Regions from separate parts of the Homo sapiens genome. Here region 2 is linked to region 1. The links are contacts of gene promoters, found by promoter capture Hi-C in blood cells and fetal thymus (Javierre and others, 2016). All regions are on one chromosome and are shown on one strand. Each heading gives the region's core, a stretch centred on a gene start or on the middle of the fragment in contact. The rest is flanking DNA. Distances are from core to core; before and after follow the strand shown. Region 1 holds the start of C19orf81 (chromosome 19 open reading frame 81). Region 2 holds the start of GPR32 (G protein-coupled receptor 32).

Region 1 (6,881 bases), core at 4,288-6,787:
TCCACCATGTTCAGATATGGCAAGCAACAGTATGGGAGGAACTCTTATCTCTAAATCTTCTCACCAAGCCAAGATGTCCCACAACCCTGCCTTTCATTACACAAGAGAGAAATACAATTCTGGTTCTTGACCAGCTGAGGCAGGTAACATAGCAACACCCTATCTCTACAAAAAAAAATTTTTAATTATCTGGGCATGATGTTGTGTGCCTGTAGTCCCAGCTACTGAGGAGGCTAGGGTGGGAGGATTGCTTGAGGCCAGGAGTTAGAGGTTGCAGTGAGCCATGATTGTACCAATGCACTTCAGCCTGGGTGACAGAGAAAGGGAGAAAGAGAGACAGAAAGAGAGAAGGAAGGAAGGAAGGAAGGGAGGGAGGGAGGGACGGAGCCTGGTGCAGTGGCTCACTCCTGTAATCCCAGCACTTTGGGAGGCTGAAGCGGGCAGATCACGAGGTCAGGAGTTCGAGACCATCCTGGCCAATATGGTGAAACCCCATCTACTAAAAATACAAAAAAGCCGGGTGTGTTGGTGTGTGCCTGTAGTCCCAGCTACTCGGGAGGCTGAGGCAGAAGAATCACTTGAACCCAGGAGGCAGAGGTTGCAGTGAGCCAAGATTGCGCCACTGCACTCCAGCCTGGGCGACAGAGTGAGACTCCATCTCAAAAACAAAAAGAGAGGGAGAGAAAGAAAAGAGAGAGATGGAGGGAGGGAAGAAGGAGAAAGAGAGGAAAGGAGCAAGGGAGAAAAGAAAAGAAATACACTTCTGTCTTCTTTATGATGTTGTGTTTTGGGGTGTCTTTGTTATAGCTGCTGAAAGGGAGGGAAGCAGACACTGACAGCCCGGCCCTGGTGCTCTCCTGCCGAACATAAAACATTTCCCGTAACACCAACATCAAGCAAGGCCACTCTGTGACCGTGATGGACTGAGACAAAAACAAGACCACCCCTGAATCATGTCTCAACACAACAAACATGAACATTGTCCAAACCACAAAAATGACCAAAATCCCCCCCTCCCAGCTCAGAGCCGACGGCTGCTTTTTCATTAACCCCAGCATTAGCTCCATCTACCCCTCCTGGTTCCCAATGAGATGAAGATTCCCAGTCATGGGCTTGCCTGTGCTTTCCATCAGTCTCCCATCCAGAGCAAAGCCCCACCCCCGTGAACCCTCCCCAAAGTCACCTGACACAGCCCGGCTCTAACAATAAGTCCTTGCTAACACCCTTCTACTGAGACAACGTGTGTGTGTGTGTGTGTGTGTGTGTGTGTGTGTGTGTGTGTGTGTGTGTGTGTGTGTGCTGTCTCTCATTACAATAAGTCAACACATTCAACTTGGTTTAACTATAGTCAGTGGTGTGCTGGTATATGTTTCACAACGGGCTCTCCTGCACACTCTCACACACACACGTGCGGTAGACACTTACTCCAGGGCCCACCCCCAGACCTACTGGATTCAAATCTACATTTTCACGGGATCCCCTTCCAGAAATACCTACCCTCATTATTTTCTTCCAGTCATACCGGCCTCCCTCCATCCCTCAAACACAGCCATCCCCTCCTCAAGTCTGTCCACTTAACAATATAACTATGTGCTTACTGTCCCTTTTATATGCCAAACACTTTAAAAAATACTTTCCACTGTGGCCGGGCACAGTAGCTCACGCCTGTAATCCCAGCACTTTGGGATGCCAAAGTGGGCAGATTGACTGAGCTCAGGAGTTCGAGACCAGCCTGGCCAACATGGTGAGATCCCATCTCTACTAAAAATACAAAAAATTAGGCGGGCATGGTAGCGCGCACCTGTAGTCTTAGGTACTCCGGAGGCTGAGGCAGGAGAATTGCTTGAACCCTGGAGGCAGAGATTGCAGTGAGCCGGGATCGTGCCACTGCACTGCATCCTGGGCGACAAAGCAAGACTCTAGTGCCAAAATAAAATAAAATAGAATAGAATAAAATACTTTCCATTGCATCCTCACAACAACCTTCCGAGGTAGTGTTGTTTAACACATGATGAAACAGAAGCACAGAGAGGTTAAGTGACTTGCCCAAAGTCACACAGCACAAAATGATAGAATAAGGATAAAAATGTAAGCATCTGGATCCAGTGTGCGTGTTCTCAATCTCCCCAGGTGCCTTCCTCTCACCTCACTCTCACCTGGTCTCCTAACTCCTCTCGCTCTCCAGTTACCCCAGCAAGGCAGGATTTTGACATGTAGACCTGACCCTATGGCCCCTTCCTCAAAACCCTCCCAGGACTTTTCATTGTCTGTGGGATGAATAAAGTCCAAAGTCCTTCCAGTGACCATAAGACCACACGTGATCAGACCGTGCTAGTGTCTTAAACCTGATCAAGCACAATCGTCCTTTTCACCTGCTGCAGTCCAAAAACGCTGTTTTTCTGCGACTTGGACTCTCTGACCCCTCCTGCTGCAGGATCTTGGCCAATGCTGTAACTCTGCGTGGATCTCTCTTCCCCCTCATTTGGCTAATCAAGTCTCCCTGAGGGTCCACTGATGCCATTCCTCATAGCACAGTATGTTTGTACTCATAGTATTGCAATTTTACCTTTATTTCTATGATTCCCTAATTACACTCTGTCTTCCCTACGTCTTCTGAGCAACGTAAGGGCAGGGACTTGTGTTTTCGTCCCCAGCATCTAGCAAAGTGCCAGGCTTATAGTTGTCCTTAGTATTTATTGAATAAAGCCTGAAATGTGTGCACTTTGTTTGGGCCCTAATTTAAACAAGCCAACTATAAAAAAATACAATTTTGAGATAATTAGGGAAATTTAAATATGTACTAGGTATGAGATGATATTCAAAAATAATTATAGGCCGGGCATGGTGGTTCACACCTATCATCCCGGCACTTTGGGAGGCTGAGGCAGGAGGATCGCTTGAGCCCAGGATTTTGAGGCTGCAGTGAGCTACAATGGTGTCAATTCATGCCAGCCTAGGTTACAAAGTGAGTCCCTGTCTCAACACAATAAATTAATTTTAAAAAATAGCCTTGTACAAGCGTTAAATGAATCAAAAAGTAACTCTAGCAGCATCAAAGATGCATGTGAAAAAATGTGAATACAATAGTTTCTCATGAAATATGACATTAGAAATAAGAACTATTTCTAGTTACAACAGTGATTTTAATATATGTAAATGTATTTAATACATTTAAATGTATATGTGTAATTAAATTAACATAAGCATAAACTTAAAAATAAGTACTTATTGAAAAATTGAGGAAATGCAACCATTTCAAGCTTTTTTTTTTTTCCTTTGGTGACAGAGTCTCACTGTGTTGCCCAGGTTGGAGGGTCATGGTGCAGTCATAGCTCACTGCAGCCAGGAACTCCTGGGCTTAAGGGATCTTCCTGTCTCAGCCTCCCAAGTAGCTGGTTAAATTTTTTTAACAGGCATCTCAGAGGGCCCCTGTGTGCCTTGGAGGATGCTGGGGACCAAGAGATGAATGAGACACACCTCTGCCCTTTCAGAACTCTCAGATAAAGGGCAATGTGTGTTTCAATGAAAGTGTTACAAGGTGGAGGGAAAGCCCAGTCTCCCGGTCTAGGGGCAATCAGGGAAGGCTCTCTAGAGGAGGTGTCCACAGTGAGACCTAAAGAATAAGAAGGTATTTACCAAATAAAGAGGTGACAGAGAGAAGGATGTTTCCCATGAAGGGCCTAGCATGGGCCAAGGTTTTTGAGCAAAAGAGAAGAGAGTCACCTGCAAGAACTTCCCAGAATTCCCTTGAGCCCCAAGACTAAAGAGCGCTTATTGCCATTGGAGGCTATGAATGATCTGTGAGATGGCGTGTTTCACGTCTCCTCTCCCAGCATGAGAACAAGCCAGGCCGTTTCATCCATTAGGCACTACAGGCAAAATGCTTGGGACCCAGGGGCTTTCTAATGGCCTATGCTGAAGTTTGCAACCTGATCAACTAAAAAATGTGATTGGTTCCACAACGCTGCAAAGAAAACAGCAAAATCGAAATGAACAAACGTCGATCAACAAAACTAGCCAACTGGTCGACTCAACTCCACTTGACTTTTCTGGAGCTACATATAAATTACATGTCACGTGGGTGCCTCAGTCTAGGCTAGAGATGGTGCATTGTGGGGTCTCCAAAAGAAAGATGCCTTCAAAAGCACTAAAAGAGACCTAAAGGCAGAGAAACAACGCCTGTTTTGCCATCAGGGCATTTGTTCGGCCTCGAAGGCTGAGGTGGGAGGATCACTTGAGCCAGGAGCTCAAGGCTGCAGTGAGTTTTGGTTTTGGGTGTTTTTGTTTGTTTGTTTGTTTGTTTTGTTTTTTGAGACAGAGTCTCCCTCCATCACCCAGGCTGGAGTGCAGTGGCACAATCTTGGCTCGCTGCAGCCTCTGCCTCCTGGGTTCAAGCGATTCTCCTGCCTCAGCCTCCCTAGTAACTGGGATTACAGGCACCCGGCACCACACCTGGCTAATTTTTGTATTTTTAGAGATGGGGTTTCACCATGTTGGCCAGGCTGGCTGGCCTTGAACTCCTGACCTCAGGTGATCCACTCACCTCGGCCTCCAAAGTGCTGGGATTATAGGCGTGAGCCACCACACCCAGTCCTGAGTTTGGTTTTCTATTACCTGCAGTTACATGCATCCTCACTGAGATACTACTCCATAAATGTTGAATGAGTGTAACTGCATGAGCTGTGCTACAGCACAGAGTGCTAGCAGGAAGTGCTGGGCTAGGAGCCTGAAGTTGTCAGCAGGGGTCAGACCACACAGGGCCTCAAAAGCCAGGCTGGAGCTTTGGGTCTCTGTCCTAGAGGTGACAGGAAGCTAGGAAGTGTTATGAGCAAGGGACAGCCAGGATCACTGCAGGAAGTCAGAGAGACCTCTCTGGAGCCATGGAGGGATAGGTAGGAGGAGAGAAACTGGGGACCAGGGAGGAGGTGAGGAGAGGGTCCACATGGAAGAGGATGAGACCTGGGACAGGGCTGCGGGGACAGAGAGGAAGGAATGGGGAAGGGAGAGTCAGAGGGCAGGAAGATAGGGCCTGATGGGCTGTGGGAGGGAATTGTGGGAGGTGGAAGGATGGCACCAGTGACTGGGTTGGCGGTGGGGCCATTTGAAAATGGAAACCAGGAAGGAGGAGAGCAGCTTTGGGGGAAGATGCTGAGCTCAGGGTGGGAGACAAGACAGTGAGGTTACCTAGGAGAAGAATGGCCTCAGAGGTGTTGCTTAGGCCCCAGAGGCTCATGGGAAATGTAGTTCTGAGTCCAGGGCATTGGCCAAGGAACTGCAGAGGCTCATGGGAAATGTAGTTTGAGGTCCAAGGGGGCCGCTCTCCAGGAATCTGGTGAATCCAGGAATGCTAGGGATGGCTTTCACTTTGGAGTGCCAGTGACTCGCTTAAGGCCACACTGTGAGCCCGGGCTACTACGCACTGCCTGGATGGAGGAAGTCCACCCCTTCCCCCAAAGACACAGCTCAGTACCTGCCTTCCTGTGCATGGTGGGGCTGCCCATGGCAGGGAAGCACACGGGCTCCACCTCTGGCTGCATCCTGGGAAGGTGGGTGAGGGATGTCTCAGGAAGGTGGCAAGAGAGGCTCTGCCTGGGCCACCCACCCCAGCTCCTTCTCCCCACCGCTGCCTCCTCTACCTCCTCTTTGAAGCCCCGGGGTAGAATTACAGAGGAACTGGAAGGCTGAGACCATGTGGAGATCTGGGTTCCCCTGACCTCAGGGACTCCCTGTGTGCCCCAATCCCTTCTTTCCCATTTCCCTGTTTTTCCTCCTATCTCTCTCTGTCTCCTAGAGTCCCTTTCCCCACCCCTCTCTCTCCACCTCCCTTCCTCATTCTCTCCCCATCTCTCTGCCCCCCTGCCTCCTCCCCTCTGTCCCCACGTCTCCACCACTCTTTTGCTTGATTTCTCTGCCCTCCTCCTCCCTCCTTCTCTCCTGGGCTCCATCTCTTCAGTCTCCATCAGTTTCCCCAGCATCTCCCCAGGCCCCCGTCCCTCCTTGTCTTCATCGTTTTCTGCCTCTCCCTAACCCCGTCACCCTCTCTCTGTCTTCCCACCTCTCACCAGTCTCCTTGCCCCATCTCTATCCTCTCCTAGCTGCCTCCACTGCCCCCTTGAGGCCCCCTCCCCTCTGTCATCCCCTTTCTGTTCCCACTTGCCCTCTGCTCATCCCTGCCCCAGCCAGGAACTGGTTAGAAACAGGCGAGATTCCAACGAAAGTGGGTTCTCTAGTGGGGAGGGGATGGTGGGCAGGGGGCCTGGTTGCCATGGTGCCTCCAGAGGGAGGGGGAGGGGTGGGGGCCTGGATTCCTGGGTCTGAGGGAGGAGGGCCTGGGGTCTGGACTCCTGGGTCTGAGGGAGGAGAGGATGGGGGCCTGGACTTCTGGGTCTGGGGTCTCACGGGGCCTCTCGTGCTAGAGAGAAGGGGTCTAGCCGTGTAGGTGCCTGTTCAGCATCCCTTTCTCTGGGTCTGCAGAGCTCTCTGCAGGAATTGTGGGAGAGGAAGCTGGACCTTCGCTTATTTGTTTTGTCTGTCCTTGCAGTCTTTGTCTCTGTTACTTGTATCTCTTTCTCTTCCTCTTTCTCCACATCCAGATGGTCTCTGGACTGTCTGTTGTTCCTGCTTACTAAGTATTCGTTCTAGGTGGTGGCACCTTGATTTCCTCAGTGATTTGTTCAGTGGCGAGCTTAAGAATCAATCTAGGCTACAAAGTCAACCTTTGGACTTTTGCTGGACCTGTTAGAAAACAGGGTTTTTCCCCTGTGGTTTTGGGGCTGGTCAGAGCCAGGGTTGGAGCTCTCGGTGCTACCACATCACCATGCAGGGAGATAACTTGCCTGAGAGCAAAGACAACACGAGGGAAGCATAGCCCAAAGATACAG
Region 2 (6,733 bases), core at 2,056-4,555, 120 kb before region 1:
CCTGCAGGCTGGCTTTTTCGTGTGATGGTTGGGGAGGGTTCCAAGAGTAAGGAAAGTATGAGGGGGAGGCTCAGAACTCTGCACAAGGTGACTAGCACTCAAGCTACTGGTCAAAAAGCAAGTCACGAGCCTGGCTTAGATTCAAGGTGTGAGGAAAGGACTCCACCCCTTGATGGGAAAATCTAAAGAGTGACATTGCTAAGGAGCACGCATGCAGGAAGGTATGCAGAACGGGGGCCATTTGTGTAATCTGCCACAGCAGCCCTGATGCAAAGCTACCGTGTCCCCCGGGAGTCCCTAGGCCAGCCCTGAGATGCTTACACCCAGGTTGTGAAAGGGGAGGTTTCAAATCCCAGCTCATTGAAGCCACTGTTATTTTGTGTCTCTCCTGCAACAGCTGAATCTACCCCTTAACTATTAATTATGCTGCCAACCTCTGGAACTTGTGTGAAGTGACTTGATAAATTTCCTTATTGTTGAAGCCAGTTGGAGTCAGGTTTTCTGTTACTTAAAACACCCCAAAACCAAACTGATGCATGTAAAGAATAGTCCTTTCTGGGGATTGAAGTCCCAGTGGTCCCTGGTCACAACAGGCCATTCCCTTGGCTCTAGGTCGAGGCAAAAGAAAAATGTCATGCAATCCAGAAGCTGTCACACCACTTGCTCATGATTCAAAGAAGTAGTTCTGCCCAGGTGTGGTGGCTCATGCCTGTAATTCCAGCACTTTGGGAGGCTGAAGCGGGCAGATCATTCAAGGTCAGGATTTTGAGACCGGCCTGGCCAACATGGAGAAACCCCATCTCTACTGAAAATACAAAATTAGCCTGGCATGGGGTGGCACATGCCAGCTACTCAGGAGGCTGAGGTGAGAGGACCACTTGAGCCTGGGAGATTGAGGTGGCAGTGAGTTGTGATCACACCACTGCACTCCAGCCTGAGCAACAGAGCAAGACCCTATCAGAAAAAAAAAAAAAACTTATATTTTTAAGCCTCTAAACATGGAAGGTTTTTGTTACACAGCAAAAGGTAACTGATACATCTGCATTCCGGACAATAGAAAGGGGGAAATGGGGAAATGGAGGGCAGACCCCTTCCATTTAAGGGGCCCTTGAAGGAAGTTACATTGATTGCTGCCTCTTACATCCTATTGGTCAGAAAGCAGTCACATGGTTGTACCTACATGCAAAGGATACTGGGAAATGTAGTCTTTCCTTTTTTCTAGTTAAGCACCGTGCCTCATTAGAACACAGGAGTTTTACTACCAAAAAAGGGGAGGCCAGGTGCTGTGGCTCACACCTGTAATCCCAGTAGTTTTGGGAGCCGAGGCTGGAGGATCACTTGAACTCAGGAGTTTGAGACCACTCTGGGCAACATGATGAAACCCCGTGTCTACAAATTACCCAGGTAGCACATGCCTATAGTCCCAGGTACTAGGCAGGGTGAGGGGAGGTGGGGGGTGGGGCGTGGGGAGTCCTGAGGCAGGAGAATGGCTTGAGCCCTGAAGGTCAAGGCTGCAGTGAGCCGAGATTTTGCCACTGCGCTCCAGCCTGGGTGACAAAATCAGACCCTGTCTTTAAAAAATTTTTAAAAAAAAGAAAAAGAGAGGGAAAGAATGGGCCAGGTGCAGTGGCTCACGCCTGTAATCCTAGCCCTTTGGGAGGCCGAGGCAGGCGGATCACAAGGTCAGGAGATTGAGACCATCCTGGCCAACGTGGTTAAACCCCGTCTCTACTAAAAAATATACAAAAATTATCTGGGCGTGGTGGCACGTGCCTGTAATCCCAGCTACTCGGGAGGCTGAGGCAGAATTGCTTGAACCAGAAAGTCAGAGGTTGCAGTGAGCCGAGATCGCGCCACTGCAGTCCAGCCTGGTGACAGAGCAAGACTCTATCTCAAAAAAAAAAGGGGGGGGGGGCGGGGAAGAATGGACACTGGGGAGTAAGTAGCTGTCTCTACCACAGAGCTTTAGATGAGGGGTTGCTGGAAGACTTCCTGAAAGAAGAGGCAGGATTTGGCAGGGTTTTAGAAGCCAGTCAAGGTAAGAGGCCACAAGCAAACTAAGAAGGACGGCTTCCAGCTTCCAGCTGAAGTCTTCCATCATTCCCGGGGGGCGTTGCCACGGGGACAGGATGACAGAAACTCCTCCTCTCCAAACGCCCTCGCCAGGGCAGAAGTCAAAGACTGGAAAAACTTTTCTTGGAAATCTCTGCCAACGAAGACGTAGAGGAAGGGGTTGAGGCTGCTGTTGACACAGCCCAAGGCAAAGCTAGCCTGGAGGATGAGCAGCATCCGGGGGTGGTAGATTTCCTTGAGCATCACCCGTCGCCACAGATGGACCAACAGCACCACGTTAAACGGGGACCAGAAGATAAAGAAAGCGCTCACCAGCACCAGCAGCAGCCTCTTGGGCCGGTTGGCATGGACCCAGCCCTCCCGCAAGAGCTTGGCCCGGATGAGGTGGGCGCAGGTGCCTATGATTGCTAAGGGCCCCAGGAAGCCCAGCAGGAAGTGGCCAATGGTCCCTATAATGTGTCCCTCCACGACCCCTTCAATCCAAATCTGGGCAGTCTCATTGTCAGAGTTGAACGCCAAGTAGCAGTGCGTACAGCCATTCCATTTTCTGGTTGTCCGGAATTTCAGGTGCGCAGAGCACAAGGCGGCGGCCAGGAGCCACACCCCAAAGGCCAGCCAGCTCGCCCGCTGCACAGTGCGGTGGTTCAGGGCCCAGACGGGGTAGAGGACAGAGATGCAACGGTCCACAGAGATGAAGACAAGGAGGCAGTTACTGGCAAAGTAGCTGAGGAACACAAAGGTGATGTAGAGTTTGCAGGCCCACTCTCCGAGGAGCCACTGCCTGGAGACAATATAGTACATGGCAATGGGCAGAGACAGTGAGAGCATGAAATCGGCAAGGGCCAGGTGGAAGAAGCAGACGGTGGAGACCGTGCGTGCCATACGGAAGACAGTCATCCACAGCACCAGCCCATTGCCCAGCACTCCGACGACAATGGACGCAGACAGGATAACCACAGTCAGTGGGCGGAGGGACCCCACCTCCTCAGACAGGCATCCGGAAGAGTTCATCTTCCTGGAACAAGAGCGATCACGTGTCAGGACCCCAGGTTGCCTGTCACTGCAGCCTCTGGTCCCCTCCGAGACCCCATTCATGATTTCTCCATTCCATAATTTTTATGGAATGCTTATTATTATTATTCTTTTAGAGACAGCGTCATGCTCTGTCACCCAGGCTGGAGTGCAAAGGTACAATCACAGATCACTGCAGCCTCCACCTCCTAGGCTCAAGAGATCCTCCCCCCTCAGCCTCCTGGAGTAGCTGGGACTACAGGCACTTACCACCATGCCTGGCTAATTTTTTTACCTTTTTTTTTTTTTTTTTTTTTTGACACAGAGTCTTGCTCTCTCTGTCACCCAGGCTGTAGTGCAATGGTATGATCTCGGCTCACTGCAACCTCCACCTCCAAGGTTCAAGCAATTTTCCTGCCTCAGCCTCCCAAGTAGCTGGAACTACAGGCACATGCCACCACACCTGGCTAATTTTTCTGTTTTTAGTAGAGACAGGGTTTTACCATGTTGGCCAGGCTGGTCTTGAACTACTGACCTCGTGACCCGTCCACCAGCCTCCCAAAGTGCTGGGATTATAGGTGTGAGCCACTCTGCCAGGCCTTAAATTCTTTTTTGTAGAGATGGGGTTTTGCTGTGTTGCCCAGGCTGGTCTTGAACTCCTGGCTTCAAGTGATCCTCCCACCTCAGCCTCCCAAAGTGCTGGGATTACAAGTGTGAGCCATTGAGCCCAGCCTGAATGCTTTTTATGACACAATAATATTGTTCTTTTTTTTTTTTTTTTTTTGAGACAGAGTCTCCTTATGTCACCCAGGCTGCAGTGCAATGGCACGATCTCGGCTCACTGGACACTATAATATTGTTCTAAGTACTGGACATAACTCGTGTAACAAAACAAGCCCTCATGGAACTTACATCCCAGTGAGAGATGTCAGGTGTAATACATATAATAAATTTACTTCATGATATACTGCTTTAGAAGACTACAAGTGTTATGGAAAAATAATAAATGAAATGGAGGGGCCAGGTGTGGTGGCTCATGCTTGTAATCACAACACTTTGGGAGGCTGAGGCAGAAGGATTGCTTGAAGCCAGGAGTTCCAAACCAAGGTGGGCAACATAGTGAGACCGTCTCTACAAAAAATAAATAATTACAAGTTTTTGTGGCCATGCACAGTGGCTCACGCCTGTAATCCCAGCACTTTGGGAGGCTGAGGTAGGCGGATCACCTGAGGTCAGGAGTTCGAGATCAGCCTGCCCAGCATGGCGAAACCCCGTCTCTACTAAAAATACAAAAAACATTAGCTGGGTGTGGTGGCAGCCACCTGTAATCCCAGCTACTCATGAGGCTGAAGAATCACTTAAACTTGGGAGGCGGAGGTTGCAGTGAATCAAGATCGCGCCACTGCACTCCAGCCTGGGTAACGAGAGCGAAACTCCGTCTCAAAAAAATAAAAATAAAATAAAATTTAAAAATTAGCCGTGAGATGGGCGTAGTGGCTCATTCCTGTAATCCCAGCACTTTGGGAGGCTGAGGCTGGTGGATCACTTAAGTTCAGGAGTTCGAGACCAGCCTGGCCAACATGGCAAAAGCCTGTCTCTACTAAAAATACAAAAATTAGCCAGGCTTGGTGGTGCGTGCCTGTAATCCCAGCTACTCTGAAGGCTGAGGCAGGAGAGTCCCTTGAACCTGGGAGGCAGGGGCTGCAGTGAGCCAAGATCGTGCCACTTCATTCCAGCCCAGGCAACAGAGCAAGACTCTGTCTCAAAAAAAAAAAAAAAAAAAATTAGTCAGGTATGGTGGCACGTGCCTGTAGTCCCAGCAAATTGGGAGACTGAGACACGAGGGTCACTTGAGCCCTGGAATTCGAGGCTGCAATGAGCCATGGTCACGCCATTTCACTTCAGCCTGGGTGATAAAGCGAGACCCTGTCTCAATAAAAATAAAGTAAAAATAATGAGATGGAGGTTCTTTTAACTTTGGATAATGTCAGAGTAACTTTGTCAGACAAATGGTGCCACAGACAAAAAAAAAATTAAAATCTGGACAAAATATTAAAAATTACTCCACTATTTGAAAAAATTGGCAGCAGAAAAGTCTGTCAATCCAGAATTTTATATTCTGTGAAAATATCTTTCAAAAATGAAAGTGAAAAAAGGGCATTTTCAGATAAGCCAGATCTGAAATAATATATGGCCTACAGACCGCAGGAATTGCTTAAGGAAGTAAGTCCTCTAGGCTGAAAGGAGTTAATATCACATGGTGACACATATTGACAGGAAGAAATGAAGATCATGAAATGTTTTCTTTAGAAAAAGATCAAGGTAAGGCCAAGCGCAGTGGTTCACATCCGTAATCCCAGCACACTGGGAGGCCGAGGTGAGCAGATCACTTGAAGTCAGGAGTTCGAGACCAGCCTGGCCAACAAGGCAAAACCCCGTCACTAATAAAAATAAAAAAATTAGCCAGGTGCGGTGGCACACACCTGTGATCGCAGGCATTTGGGAGGCTGAGGCAGGAGAATCGCTTGAATCTGGGAAGCTGGAGGTTGTGGTGAGCCGAGATCAGGCCACTGCACTCCAGCCTGGGTGACAGAGTGAGTCTCTGTCACCAAAAAAAAAAAAAAAAAAAAAAAATCAAGATAAGGACAACTGGGAATGTGAAGGATGAGACAGAAAGGGGCCACTGGTACATTAAACAGGGTGGTCAGGGAAGACCCCGATAAGAATGTAACATTTGTCCATGCTCAGTGGCTCATGCCTGTAATCCCAGCACTTTGGGAGGCTGAGAGGTGCGGATCACGAGGTCAGGAGTTCGAGACCAGCCTGGCCAACATGGTGAAACCCCGTCTCTACTAAAGATACAAAGAATTAGCTGGGCGTGGAGGCTCCCACCTGTAATCCCAGCTACTCAGAGGGCTGGGGCAGGAGAATCACTTGAACCTGGGAGGCAGAGGTTGCAGTGAGCCGAGATCACACCATTGCACTCGAGCCTAGGCAACAGGGTGAGACTCCATGTCAAAAAAAAAAAAAAAGAATATAACATTTGAGCAAAGATTTGGAGGAGATAACAAAGTAGTGAGGCACATACGTATCTGGAGGAAGAGCCCTTCAGGCAGAACCAGCAGCTTGTGCAAAGTCCTGAGGCAGGACGGTGCCTGGAATGCTCAAGGAACAGCAGGGAGGCCGGTGTGGCTGGAGCCACGTGGGCAATGGGAAGAGAGGTAAGAGGTGAAGGCAGAGAGGGAAGCGGGCAGATGGAGCAGGACCCTGTGAGTCATAGTGCAGACTCTCCTGGCCTTTCCTGTGAGTGAGATGGGAGTTACAAGAGACTGTTGAGCAGAGAAGGAACAATATCTGACTTAGGTCTTAACAATCACTGTGACTTTAAGGTTGAGACTAGACTGAGGGGGTGGGATGGAAGCAGGAGGCCGGGAGGAAGCTGCTGCAGTAACCCAGGTGGGCAGTGATGGGGATGGGGACCAGGGTGATGTCAGAGGAGGGGGTGGGAAGCAGATTCCAGGGTCAAGGTGGAGCTGGCTAGATTTGCTGCTGGGCTGGATGTGTGAGGTGAGAGGGAGAGCAGTGTCGGGGTGACTGCAGGACTTTTGAACCGATGGAAGCTGGAGTTGCTGTGCACTGGGATAGGGGA

What was found. The method cuts DNA at HindIII sites, captures the fragments that hold promoters and counts their contacts. A CHiCAGO score of 5 or more calls a contact.
Region 2: a contact is called between the fragment with the promoter of GPR32 here and the fragment with the promoter of C19orf81 in region 1, in 16 of 17 cell types (erythroblasts, megakaryocytes, M0 macrophages and 13 more). The highest score is 13.1, in erythroblasts.

The regions. Positions count from the first base shown.
Region 1 is chr19:50,648,101-50,654,981 of GRCh38, reverse strand. C19orf81 (chromosome 19 open reading frame 81) reads right to left here and starts at 5,537. Exons shown (of 5, transcript NM_001195076.2): 1 at 5,471-5,537. The coding sequence starts at 5,537. It also overlaps a transcript of SYT3 not described here. RefSeq lists an enhancer at 6,604-6,653. The HindIII fragment of the contact is 10,880 bases long and covers 3,263-6,881 here.
Region 2 is chr19:50,767,036-50,773,768 of GRCh38, reverse strand. GPR32 (G protein-coupled receptor 32) reads right to left here and starts at 3,305. Exons shown (of 1, transcript NM_001506.2): 1 at 2,037-3,305. The coding sequence starts at 3,168. The coding sequence ends at 2,098. The HindIII fragment of the contact is 17,473 bases long and covers 1-6,733 here.